4 separate regions of the Homo sapiens genome follow, and all the other regions are linked to region 4. Evidence: promoter capture Hi-C in 16 types of primary human blood cells and fetal thymus (Javierre and others, 2016). All regions are on one chromosome and are shown on one strand. Each heading gives the region's core, a stretch centred on a gene start or on the middle of the fragment in contact. The rest is flanking DNA. Distances are from core to core; before and after follow the strand shown.

Region 1 (3,157 bases), core at 163-2,662, 220 kb after region 4:
CGGGAAGCAGTGTGGGGCAGCATTCCCGCACCCCCTCCTTCATTCCCTTAGTGTTTATGAACATCTGCTCTGTGCCAGGCACCACGCCGGGCACAGGGGAGGCAGTGGTGAACAAGGTGGGCCCTGTGCCTGTCCCGATAAGATTTAGATCTTATTGGGAGAGGCTGCTGTAAAAACCAGGAAGAAAAACCTAAGTGCAAAGTGGCATTGCGGGGGCAAAGGGCGTTCTTAGAGGCTGGGTGCTCAGGGGAGGCCTCTCGGTGGTGACTGACCAGGGAGCCAGGCTTCAGGCCCTCTCTCAGCCAGTTTCCTGTCCCCGAGAGGGCCTGCGGCAGCATGAACCAACAAGAGAGCCGGGCCAAGCTGCGCTCAGGGGACCCCATGCAGGCCCCAGTGAGCCAGGCTAGCCCAGGGAGGGCTTCCTCTGCCTCGCGGCCGGCCCATGAGGCTGGAGCCACACCTGGCCCAAAGCCTGCTCTGCGGGTTCCTGCCCCAGCCCTGGCTTCTGTGGCATCAGTGTGGGCAAGGCCAGAGCCTGGGGGCAGGTAGAGAGCTGGGGGAGCAGGTCTGCACCCCAGGAGCTGTCCTGGGTGTCTAGAAAGTGACCTCAGGCCCTTGACTGTGGCCACTCCTCCCAGAGACATGGCGCTTTGACGGGTCCTGAGCAGCTCCTTTCCTTCTGGGAGGGGGGTTTCGCCGGGAGTGAGGAGCAGGTCTACTTCACCTTCAAAGCAGCAACCCTGCGGTCCCATAGCATTGCACGGGACAGGCCATTTCATCTCCTCAGTGAGGCTTCACAGAGCCAACAAGCAACAGGCACACCACTGCCCTCCAGGAGCATGCGGCCCAGGGGTAAAATACCCTGAACAACCTCCCCTTCGCTCTTCCTGAGAGCCAGCCGTGGGGCCCAGGGGGCCTGAGTCAGGGGAGGACTCAGGAGGATGTGGTGTGGAGCTGGCCTCTGAGGGCAAGACTGGGGCAGAGAGAGAGGGAGGAACGTGGTGCCTCGTGCTGGGAGTGAAACAGCAAAAGGTGCGGACAGCAGAAGGCAGAAGAGCTGACAGCGTAAGCGCCTTCTGGGGCCCGTGGCGTCGTCCTCTAGTTCCCTCCACTGCTGCCCCTGCAGAAGGCCTCATGCACAGATGACCATTGCTGTTGGTTCAAAGGAGGAGGCGGGAAAGGGGCTGGGCTCTGGTCTCTAGAGTGCTCCAGCCTGTGCTTCTCACCCGGTACCTTTGGCGATGTTTGGAGGCATTACTAGTTGTCACACTGGGTGCAGGGGTGCCACTGGCACCTGGTGGGTGGAGACCAAAGGTGCTGTCAGCATCCTACACTGCACAGGATGCACAGGACAGCCCCGAACACACAGAATGATCCAGAATGTCAGTAGGGCCTAGTCCAGCAGTGTCAGCATCAGCCAGGGCAGGAACTAGACCTGCAGAGCCCCGGGCCCAGCCCAGCCCAGCCCTCCTGAGTCAGAATCTGCACGTCGCTGAGATCCCCTGGTGATGCCTGTGCACACTGTAGTTTGGGAAACACCCAAACTGATCACGCACCTGAGCCCTGATCACTCAAAGGTGCAAAAACCGGCTCAGAGAGGAGTCCAAAGTCATCTGCCCCATGGGGTAGGGCCGGGGCAATGGCCTCATCCTGCAGGAATGGCCCCAGCCTTGACACTGGAGTAGAGTCCTTGGCATTCACAGCAGCTGGCCTCGTGTGCCATCCATTAAGTGCAAGATGGCTGGGCCCCCGCCCTCCCTGCACAATGTGCCCAGAGTGCGTCATTTATATCTCCTCCTTGTAGGCGGATATGGGAAGACCCAGTTAGCGTTGATCTCTCATTTCAAACCATTCTGTTTGCTTCTCTCTCTCTGCCCCTCCAGACTCAGTGACTATCTCTTCACGCTAGCCAGATATGCAGCCATGAAGGAGGGGAATCAAGAGAAAATATACATGAAAAATGACCCATCGGCCGAGTCTGAGGGACTCTGAAATCACAGAAAGTGGGAGCTTGGAGGATCCCTCCATGGCGATGGCCGTGGAGAGAGGAGCTTGCCCTTCTGGGGTCCTGGTTCCTGAAGAGCTCACCCAGAGAGGCTCAAAGCAGCCTTTTGTCCCAGCTCAGCTTTGATCTACACCTCTTGCCACCTTCCTCAAGGGACTGTGACCCTTTGGGGATTCTGTCCCTGACCCTGCTTCCCCAAGCTCTCCTGGGTCTTGGAGGGATGTGGGAATGAATTGGCATTGCAGGAAAGACAGGTAAAGTGATTGCTGCAATGAGAAGGAGCTGTGCGGAAAAGGAATAAAAGTTGGAAAGGCTGGAGCCGTGTGTGTGTGTGTGTGTGTGTGTGTGTGTGTGTGTGTGTGTGTGAGAGAGAGCCCTCCCACTGCCAGCTCAGGTTGTTCACAGATTTGGAATGGGACCAGAGGCCCTTGAAAATGTAATTGTGATTTACCTGTGCCAAAGGTGCTTTAAATGTCACATTTGTAAAGGGGAAGGCGGACAAGATTTGGAAGTTTAGTCACCTCTGAGCCACCCATCACCGCCAAAGTGTGGGGGAAGGATAGCTGCAGATTGACAGGCGAGGCTCAGAAACTCCTGGCTTAGATTGAAGTGTGTGTGATGGGGGTGCAGCTTAGAGGACCCCCTCTGAAAGGGATGGAGATGCTGATGAGAACAACACTACCACTTGAAGGTGAACATTCCCTGTCTGGTTGGACTGAGTCAAGGGTCTGCGGTGCAGCATCTTCAGCTTGAGAAAATGAGGTTGTCAGTTTCCAGCAAGGCTGACATCCACCAGACTGATTTCTCCGATGTTGCACTTGGCTGGCTTATGCCTCTGAGATCGGTGCCACGGCTGTATTTATTTCAGTTGTCACTGCTGCTCCCTCCTGCTATGAAACGACACTGCCAGTGCCAGCAGTGTCCTTGGGAAAGGCAATATTTATGAAGGGCAGAAGAGGCAGCCCCAAGAACCTAAAGACTGCAGGCTGCTAATTGCAGGAAATGACTTTGGAAGGGCAGGCTCTTGTCCAGTTTCAGGGCTGAAATGCCTGGCGAACTCCATTCAGCCATCACATATTGACTGAGTGGCTGCTTAGCATGGGCCACCGCGCTAGGCTCGGGACAGCTGGTCTTTCCGGCCATCTTTCTTGC
Region 2 (3,068 bases), core at 397-2,896, 230 kb after region 4:
GTTTGGCTCCAGTGTCTGACACATCTGCAGTGTTCAGACAAGCCACACGCACACGCAGCCCTTCTGTATTTCCCGAGGCCTGAACAGTGGTGTTTCAGATTTTCAATCTGCCAACAATTTTTAAATCTGGAGATTTCACAGACATTGGAATTTGTGGCTTCTTTTGAAAAGTGGGGAGCCTGGCCACATGGTATCTAGCCTGGGCAGGGCGGCCAGCTGCTGGGGCTGAGCAGCAGCTGCCGGTTCCTGTGATGCCCACCAGCCCAAGTTCAAATCCTGGTTTGACCTCTTCCAAACATGTGACCTTGGGTGTGTGACAAATCTGTCTGGTCTCAAAATCTATACTAGTTTCCTGTGGCTGACGGAACAAAGCACCATAAACTCGGGGACTTAAGCAGCAGACATTCATCCTCTCACAATTCTAGAAGCTGTTAAGTCTGAAATCAAGAGATTCACAGGGTTGGTTCCTCTCCAGGCTGTGAAGGAGAATCTGTTCCTAGCCTCTCTCCTGGCTATGGGTGATGGCTGGAAGTCCCTGCGTTCCTTGGCCTGAAGGTTCCCCACTTGAGTCTCTGCCTCTGTCTTCACATGGCCGAGTCCTCTCTTTCTGTAAGGACACCAGTCACATCGGATTAGGGTCCCACCCTACTCCTATATGACCTCATCTGAACTAGTTACATCTACAACAACCCTATTTCCAAATAAGGCCACATGCTGAGGTAGTGGGGGTTAGGATGCATCTTTTTTGGGACAGAATTCAACCCATACACCATCTTGAGGACGGGATTAATAGTATGATCTCAGAGCTATTGAGAGGATTTGGTGACATATTCCAAGAAAAAGTGGCTGGCACCTGAGTAAATGTTAATTATGACTATTATTATTTCTACTACACTTTTGAGACAAGACATAAGCCAGGAAATGGCAAACAGGTTTAGCTTCCCAGGCCCATACCCATGGACTGCTGAAAGCAGCACATGAAGACACAGTGCAGGAATCAATTAGTAATGTCTGCCATGGGTGAGGAGGAGGCAGTGATGACACAGGCGCCAAATATTTCCCGTCCTTGAATAAGCAATTCTCCTTTTCACCCCCTCACCCTATGAGATTGTTTAGGATCTGTGAGCATGTGGTGGTTCATGGCATGAAGAATCACCTCCTGCCACACTTGCTCTGGAAGACAGTTGTAGTGGGTTGAATGGTGTCCCCCTGAACAATCTGTCCAAGTGCTAACCCCCAGAACCTGTGCATGGGACCTTTTTTGGAAACAGGTCTTTGTAGATGTAATTAAGGTAAGGACCACAAGATGAGATCATCTTGGGTGAGGGTGGGTCCTAATTCAAGGACAAGTCCTTCTAAGAGAAGGAGAAAGAGGAAGCCCTAGAGGGAAGACTATATGGGGATGGAGGCAGAGATGGGAGTGATACAGTTACAGCCAAGCACGCAGGGGCCACCAGAAGCTAGAAGAGGCAGGGCAGGCTTCTCCCCAGAGCCTCCAGAGGGAGTGCTGCCTGTGGGCACCTTGATTTCAGGCTTCTGGCCAGAACTGTCCGAGGAGAATACATTTCCGTTGTTTTAAGCCACCCGGCTTGTTGTGATTTGTTGCAGCAGCCATGGGAAACCAATATAGGAGCCAATGGAATTGTTTTAGAACAGCAATGAGAGTTACCTTCTGACCCAATACTCCACCCTGCCTGGCCCCAAGGCCAAGGAAGAAGGGGAGATAGCATTTACTGGGCAACTATAATTTGCCAGGTGCTTAACAGATGTGACCTCGTTTAATCCTCATGGCAGGCAGGAACTGTTATTCACTACTTTACAGCTGGGGAAAATGAATCTCCGAGAAGTGAAATGCTGCCTACTCTCAAGTCACTGAGGGTGGGTGTGGTGATCCGAGCTCAAGTACAGGTCCAAGGTCAAGGCCTGTGCCCTTGACCACTAGTCCACATTGCCCGTCACCGGCCTGGGTCACTGCTTGGTCTTCTGCGGCCTCTTTATCTGGGAACTGCTGTGTCTACAGCCCCTGCTGCCTGCAGGATCCTAGCCTGTCTCATCAGAGCTGACCAGACTAGTGAGGGGACCCTAGCTGAAGGCCACTCAGCCGCAGGCAGGTGGACCACGCTGGAACATGGTCTGAGGGATGCAGCAGTGGTTTGGCTAGAGGCCCCAGGAGCGCAAGGCTGCATAGCTGCAAGGATGGTGGACTCAGAGGCAGTTCATGGGGACGCTGGAGCCAGAGACGTGCAGAGAAGGGCTCATGTGGCCCAAGAGGAGGAGAGGACCACCTCAGCTCCCGCCCACCGCACTTCTTGCGTGGGTCCCAGAGCCGCTCTCATACCTCCTCACCACCTGCTCTGGCTCTGAGCTGGTCTGCCAGCTTCTGCTCTTTGCAACAGCACAAGTTCTGGCTACAACACACAAGTTCTGGCTACAATGTTCTTGTTGTAAAATAACTTGTCCCTCCCCAGCATAAGGCAGGCTAGTTTAGGACTCTGTGTGAGGGGCAGTCCTGGAAGGGCCAGAATGACTTCACAATAGCTTCTCTTTCACATGCCCGTGGTCTGAAGGCCAAGGACACTGGGTTTCCAGAACACTGAGTTTTTTAAACATCCATGTGCCATTCCGACAAGTGTCTTCCTTTACTCAGTGGCCACTGCCATGGCCCCATAAAAACCAGATTTAGAAGCATTTGGAGAAGGCAGCCTGACTGGTAACCCTGCACATAGGGGGCCCGGTGCAGTGAATGGCTCATGCCTGTAATCCCAGAACTTTGGGAGACCAAGGCAGGTGGATTGCTTGAGCCCAGGAGTTCAAGACCAGCGTGGGCAATATGGCAAAACCCTGTTTCTATAAAAAATACAAAATAAACTAGCCGGTTGTGGTGATGCACACTTGTGGTCCCAGCTACCTGGGAGGCTGAGGTGGGAGGATTGCTTGAGCCTCGGAGGCGGAGGTTGTAGTGAACCAAGATTGCGCCTGGGCAATCTTGATCCAGCCTGGGCAACACAGCAAGACCCTGTCTCAAAAAACAAACAAACAAAAACCAAAAATCCCCCACCCAAACCCTG
Region 3 (3,123 bases), core at 348-2,847, 150 kb after region 4:
GATTTCTCTCCCAGTGTGGTTCCACTGCTCTGGTCGATGCTACGAAACCAGCAGTTGTAGCCACCCATGACTTTTGCACCCTGAGTGCAAATGTCAACATGGTGAAAAAGGCCAATAATATCTTTGTATTGTCTGTAGCCGTGCTACCCTGAATGTGCCCAATTTTGTCTGCATCTCCAAAGCTACGTAGGGTCAGGCCTGGCAAGTACTTTGATGAAAGGACATCTTTGCGTTATGATGAAAACAGTTTTGACCTCCCAGAAACCCTGAAAGAGTCTTGGGGACCCGCAGAGGTCTGTGGATCACACTTTGACAATCACTGATTCTTCCAGGGCTGCCAGGGGTATTGGAGGTTGTGGATGAAATCTGATGAAAAGAAAGACCATAATAAATGGCCCTACATCATCGGGTACTGTACCACCACCTCTACCCCCATTATCTGGGCCTCTTCCCCATTTTGGGGGCAAATGTCTTCTATCCCCATACCTAGCCCCTCTCCCAATTCCAACTCTGGCTGAGGCTCCAGGTGAAAACCTTTCGGCTCCTTCAAAACCCCCTTCAAAAGTCAACTTCTTCCTGAAGACTTCCCAAACATAAGCCCTCAATGGGGATCACATCTCCCTCCTCTACGGCTCCAGTCCACTCTGCCATCTTCCTCATGGCCTCATCTCATTCTCAGCACCCTTCCTTGGCCATAAGAAGCCCTCAACAGACTCCTTTTGATCAAAAGGAATGAGGATAGAGAAAGCGTGACTCCTTCCATGGCTGGGGCTGATGAGCGAAATTGACTAACCCATGGTTAGCAGGCCAAAGGATTCTGGGAATTCCTGCAATCAATTTCAGAGCATGGGCATATTCCCAAGAACTGAGGACCAGGAACCAGCACCCCAGGGGGACTGGGACCAGAGGGACCTGGTGGAGAGAAAGGGTTACAAGTTCTCCAAGGGCTGACCTAGCCCAAACTGTGACACTGATGAAGCTTACATTTAGGATCCTTCTTGCTGTGTGACCTTGGGCAAATCACTTAACTTCTCTGGGCCTCCATTTCCTCATCTGTCAAGTGAAGTTTGGACCAATCCCTAGCACTCCTTACAGCTCCCCGTTCTCTGAGTCAATTATCTGCCTGTGCTAAAACATGATGTTGACACTCCAACCACCTAGGAGAAGGACAGTCAAGCTTTCTGGGCTGCTGACATTGGAACATAGCACGATGTTGACATTCAAATCTTCTATGACATCATCCGATGACATGCACACATGCCATAATGCTAACACGTGACAAGCCCATCATGCTGACATTCAAACATGCTGTTGCTGACATTGAATGCTCTCTGACGTCATTCACTCAGGCAGCATTAACTACAGCCAGCTATGCGCCGATCACGCCAACAGCCTAGGAAACCACTGAGTCCATAAAGAGTCCCTTCTCAGAACTTTCCTCTCTGAGAATCTAGACCCCATAGCAGCCTTGGGGAGTGGCTTAGTGGGGCTTGAGCTGCCCCGCCTCAGTCCATTCTCTTATGTGCGGAATGGATGTTGCCTCAACATAATGGAAGTGTGACTTTATGACTCTTCTTCCAGGCAGACTCAATCTCATAAAAATCCAGAGCTGTCAATTCGGTCTGGTGGCATGTGTCTGTAGTCCCAGCCACTTGGGAGGCTGAGGCAGGAGGACCGCTTTGGCCCCAGGAGTTCGAGGCTGCTGGGAGCTATGATCGCACCACTGCACTCCAACCTGGGTGACAGAGTGACACCCTGTCTCAAAACAAAAACTAAAACAAATCCAGAGCTGTCACTGCTTAGGCCCCACTCCCCAAGATTCCCTGCTCCCTCTCTGCTTTCCACCCAGGACCTTACTGGCTAGAATATGCGAGTGGAGGGCATCCAGGGAAAAATGTCCTGACCTCCTCCTCCTGCCCTGTACCCCCATCCCTACTGGCTGAGGCTGGGCAGGGGAGGTGGTGAGTATACAGATGCCCACTTCCCACACCCCAGGCTGCTGCCCAGGCAAAGCTTCCAAGACCCAGATTGGCCTTGCCTCTCCTGCCTTTAAAAAAAAAAAAAAAAGGAAAAGAAAAGAAATTCCTGCAACTTGAACAATCATTGTGTTGGATTTGGGAGATGTTATTCCTAGTGACAGACAAGGGCAATTATCTGCAATCCGCCAGCAGTTTTAGCCTAATTTCATTACTGCCGTGCAATTCTCCCTGAGCTGCTAGTCTATCAATGTCTTGCAGAATGGATTAGCGGGCACTTTCTTCATCTTCAAATGAATTTCAGTTGTCATGCCCTTGATGAATAGAGCAGGGGCAGGCGGCTGACCTGGGCCAGGGAGTGGCCAGGGGGCAGCAGGCCAGCGCCCTCAGGTCCTGGTGGGAGGTGAGGTGGTGGGCGGTGGTCCTGGGGGTGAGTGGAGGGAAAGTACCTGAGTGGTCCAGCCCTCCCAGACCCCTCCAGGCCCAGGATTTGAGGGCTGCTTGGACTTGTGTGCTGGGGTCTTGCACACTGAGAACCCCATCTAGGACTCCTTCCCAGATGTCAGGCTGAGAATACTGGAGGGGTTCTTTCCTTGATGGATGCTGCTGACTGGCATCCAGGCCCTCCCAACACCCCATTAAAACCCCAAACACCCAAACTCCAGCTTCCAGTCTGCTTCCCTGAGACACCGTGGACCTCACAGGAGCAGGGGCCAGAGCTGTCTTGTGGCCGCTGTGTCCCCAGAGTCTGGCTCGGAGGAGATGCTCAGACAGTGTTTGTTGCAGGACAAATGATTCTCAGTTCTGCAGCAGCTTGGGCCGGGGCCCGGTGCAGGCCTGGCACGTGGCAGGAGCCCAATCACTATTAGACAAATGGCTGGTGGTACGGGTGGCTTATTAGAAAGAAGGTGGAAAAGGGAGGGAGGGAGTGCTTTGTGAGCCCCCACTACACATCAAGCACCGTGCTGGGGACGCTGCTGATGCGGTGTCATTTCATCTCAGAGAGGTGAAGCCGCTACATCCAGGGCATAAGCAAATAAGTTGGAAATTGGCAAACCCAGGCGTGTCTGACATCCTTGCAACTCCCAAGGAGCTCTGTTTCAGGAGTGCTGGGCGTGAAGTGAGATTCTTCTCATGGGCAAGGTGA
Region 4 (3,203 bases), core at 405-2,904:
AGGGCCTTCCCCTTCTTTTGTGCCTAATTCAATATGAGGGACAGGACCAGTTAGGGCGTACTAGAAATGAGACCCAGCCACCCAGGTCAGGGTTGGGTTCCAGTCCTTGCTCTGCCACAAACTCATTATGAGTCCTTGCAGTGTAATTGGGGAAACTGAGGTCCAGAGAGGAGAAAGGACTTACCCAGTTTCCCCAATTGCAATACAAGAGGCAGGACTCAGCATTTCCTGAAGTCTTGTTTGTTCCATGGGGTGTAAATAGGTGGAAACAAAAACTTAGGTGGTCAAAAAAGTTAGGGAAATGCTGGGTTAAAGCTAAAAGGGGGCTGGGCGTGGTGGCTCATGCCTGTAATCCCAGCACTTTGGGAGGCCTTCAAGGCAGGCAGATCACTTGAGGTCAGGAGTTTGAGACCAGCCTGGTCAACATGGCAAAACCCCATCTCTACTAAAAATACAAAAATTAGCCAGGTGTAGTGGAGCATGCCTGTAATCCCAGCTAATCAGGAGGCTGAGGCAGGAGAACCACTTGAACCTGGAAGGCAGAGGTTACAGTGAGCCGAGACTGTGCCACTGCAAAGAAGTTAAAAGGGAATCTTGCCTGCAGGATCTGTTAGCATCTTTAATATGTTAATGCGATTTGTGTATCTCCAAGAGCCGGGATAGGCATCTGTTTCTCAAACTCTTTTGACTGGGAAACCCACTTTCCAAGGTGACTTGGAAGTCAGCTGCACTAGGCAAGGATGGGAATACTCCACCTTTGTTATATGTCTTTTACCTAATGGCTCTGTGCTACCCAGGGGATTTGACCACCTGTCTCCTAAGTTAAACCTCACATGGTACATACATTAAAATATTAGCCTCATTTTATTTTATGAGACGAGGTCTTGTTCTGTTGCCCAGGCTGTAGTGCAGTGGTGCGATCATGGCTCACTGCAGCCTTGACCTCCTGGGCTCAAGTGATCCTCCCACCTCAGCCTTCTGAGTATCTGGGACTACAGGCACACACTACACCCAGCTAATCTTAAAATTGTTTGTACAGATAGGGGTCTCGTGATACTGCCCAAGCTGGTCTTGAACTCCTGGGCTCAAGTGATCCTCCAGCCTTTGCTTCCCAAAGTGCTGGGATTACAGGTATGAGCCACAGCTCCCCGTTGGAGCCTCATTTTACAGTTGGGAAATAGATGACTCAGGAGTGATCACTTGCCTGAGGTCACACACACCTGCACACAGCCTCAGGATGGAACGAGTTCTGACCCTCAGACAACTACATCCCACAGCACTCAGAGGGGTCCTCTTACAGGACGAATCTGCCCTATCATCCTGACCACACATCACCTGATGCCACCTCACTCCTCCAGGTGCCACCACTTCCTTCAACAGATCTGGAAATTGAGGCTCAGAGAGGCACACAAGTCACCCAGGGTCACACGTGGAGTCAGTGGGATACTAAGTTCCGTTTTCTTGCCTCCTCCCCTCCCCCTGCCACTCGCTGGCGAGCTGGTGATGGTGGCAATTTAAACAGAAAACCTTTCGTCCCTTGCTCTCACCTATCGCGCTGGCTGGACTCCACCTTCTCCGGCCAACGTTGGGGGTGGGACGGGGTGTGGGCCCTTTAAGAGCGCCCGGGAGGGATGGGCAGGCGCAGTGGTGCTGGGCACACGTGGAGCTGCGCGTGGAGGAGTCCAGGCTGCAGCCGAGGGAGCTGAGTAGGGCAAAGTTAGGAGTCGCTGTTTGGATGGCAAGTTCAGAAGTTGGAACTTGTCTCAGTTTCCCCGCTCCAGAAATGGGGTTGTGATATAAAGACAGGGATATGAGTGAAGAAAACACAGAGCCACCCTGGAAAGGTGAGTGTCTACTAACATAGCTTCCTCTATCCAAATCTGCGCCTGAGCCCCCGTGGCCTTCTGGGGCAGCTCTGATCTCTCTGTAAGGTCACCTGTCTCTGACCTGGGGTGATCTTCTAATGGTCACTATGACAGGAAGTGATAGCCGAGGTTTTCTGCACACCAGGCTACCGTATTGGACAGCTCCGTGGTAAAGGGTGTGAGCCCAGGACAGCTAAGTAGAGAGAGAAGGATCCTAGTGTCAGAACAGAGACCTAGAGAAGGACTGCAGCTCCTGCCCGGGGCCTGGATGAGATGGTGGCTTCTCCTCTCTTTCTCCCTCACCCACCGGGATGTCTGGGCAGTTGGGGCTCTGGGATCCAAGGCTGTGCCTGGGTTCTGGAGCCAAATTGGCCACATTTGGCGGTTGACAGTTGTTTTCTATTCTCTGCAAAGGGTTGCAGCTGGGAACTAGGACTCAGAATCAGACAGGCCTGTGTTCTATCCCAGCCACTTCTCCATTCTTCATCCTCAGCTGTGTGACTTTGGGCAAAGTGATTGCCCTTCTGTGGGTCTCACTAACCTTGTCTGTAATGTGGGTGCATGCACCTCTGTTGCGCCGAGTGGTTGTGAGGCACAAGTAACGTTTAGCCCCGAGCCTGGTATCTGGTCTGCCTGTAGTTAAGTGTGGGATCTCAGTAATTGTAGCAGTGATAGCAATGCTTTCGTCACCTGTCCTCCCCCCATCAATGTGGTAATCAAAGGTGATTGATTGTATAAAGAAACCATGCTAGAATGGCCACCGGAGGGCACTTTGAGATCAGCCAGCCCAGTTCCTAGATGGGGAAACTGAGGCCCAAGGAGGCACAGGTAGTCAGGGCTAGAGCCCCAGCTGGGTTCCTGGGCCCAGACCCAGACTGTGCCATGCGCCCCTACATTGCCACGCACACAGACCCCACCCTGTGGAGGATGAGGAGGTTTTTCCAGGATAGCAGGTGCATCCTTTGCTCTGATATCCAAATATGAGGGACCGGGCATGGAGAGTGGCTCCAGCCTCTCCCGTTTCCCCTCTCCTGATGCCCCAGTGTGGGTACGCCTGGCAGTTGACCAAGGACATGGGGACCTGGGTGACCAAGTTGGTGCTTGGGTGGCCCCAGTGGTGACACCTGGGAACAGCTGAGACATAGGCCACCTCCCAGTGTAACACCTGGCCCTAGACCTTGGTTTCCTGCCCCACTCCCTCCCCGAGTGCTCACACTGTGCTTTTGTCTGCTTGAATTCCATCTCTGGTTCTGGTGCCGCCCCCCCTTGGGAAATGGATTGGTTAGGGTCACTCACGGTGGCATTATCAGGATTGGAACCCAAGTCTAGCTCACTGCA

The links. The method cuts DNA at HindIII sites, captures the fragments that hold promoters and counts their contacts. A CHiCAGO score of 5 or more calls a contact.
Region 1: a contact is called between a fragment that was not itself captured here and the fragment with the promoter of FAM222A-AS1 in region 4, in 3 of 17 cell types (M2 macrophages, M0 macrophages and M1 macrophages). The highest score is 7.9, in M2 macrophages.
Region 2: a contact is called between a fragment that was not itself captured here and the fragment with the promoter of FAM222A-AS1 in region 4, in 1 of 17 cell types (M1 macrophages). The highest score is 5.4, in M1 macrophages.
Region 3: a fragment that was not itself captured here is called in contact with the fragment with the promoter of FAM222A-AS1 in region 4 in 3 of 17 cell types (M1 macrophages, M0 macrophages and M2 macrophages); the score reaches 6.5 in M1 macrophages.

Annotation. Positions count from the first base shown.
Region 1 is chr12:109,555,863-109,559,019 of GRCh38, reverse strand. It overlaps MMAB (metabolism of cobalamin associated B), which reads left to right. Exons shown (of 9, transcript NM_052845.4): 9 at 1,884-3,157. The coding sequence ends at 1,992. Among named protein-coding and RNA genes, the nearest start is that of MMAB, 16 kb to the left of the region's middle. RefSeq lists an enhancer at 881-1,382. The HindIII fragment of the contact is 5,041 bases long and covers 1-3,157 here.
Region 2 is chr12:109,540,175-109,543,242 of GRCh38, reverse strand. It overlaps a transcript of UBE3B not described here. Among named protein-coding and RNA genes, the nearest start is that of MMAB, 32 kb to the left of the region's middle. RefSeq lists an enhancer at 1,571-2,133. The HindIII fragment of the contact is 5,869 bases long and covers 1-3,068 here.
Region 3 is chr12:109,617,339-109,620,461 of GRCh38, reverse strand. No RefSeq gene overlaps it. Among named protein-coding and RNA genes, the nearest start is that of MVK, 45 kb to the right of the region's middle. The HindIII fragment of the contact is 836 bases long and covers 1,180-2,015 here.
Region 4 is chr12:109,771,938-109,775,140 of GRCh38, reverse strand. FAM222A-AS1 (FAM222A antisense RNA 1) reads left to right here and starts at 1,654. Exons shown (of 3, transcript NR_026662.2): 1 at 1,654-1,844. RefSeq lists an enhancer at 2,566-3,065. The HindIII fragment of the contact is 7,576 bases long and covers 1-3,203 here.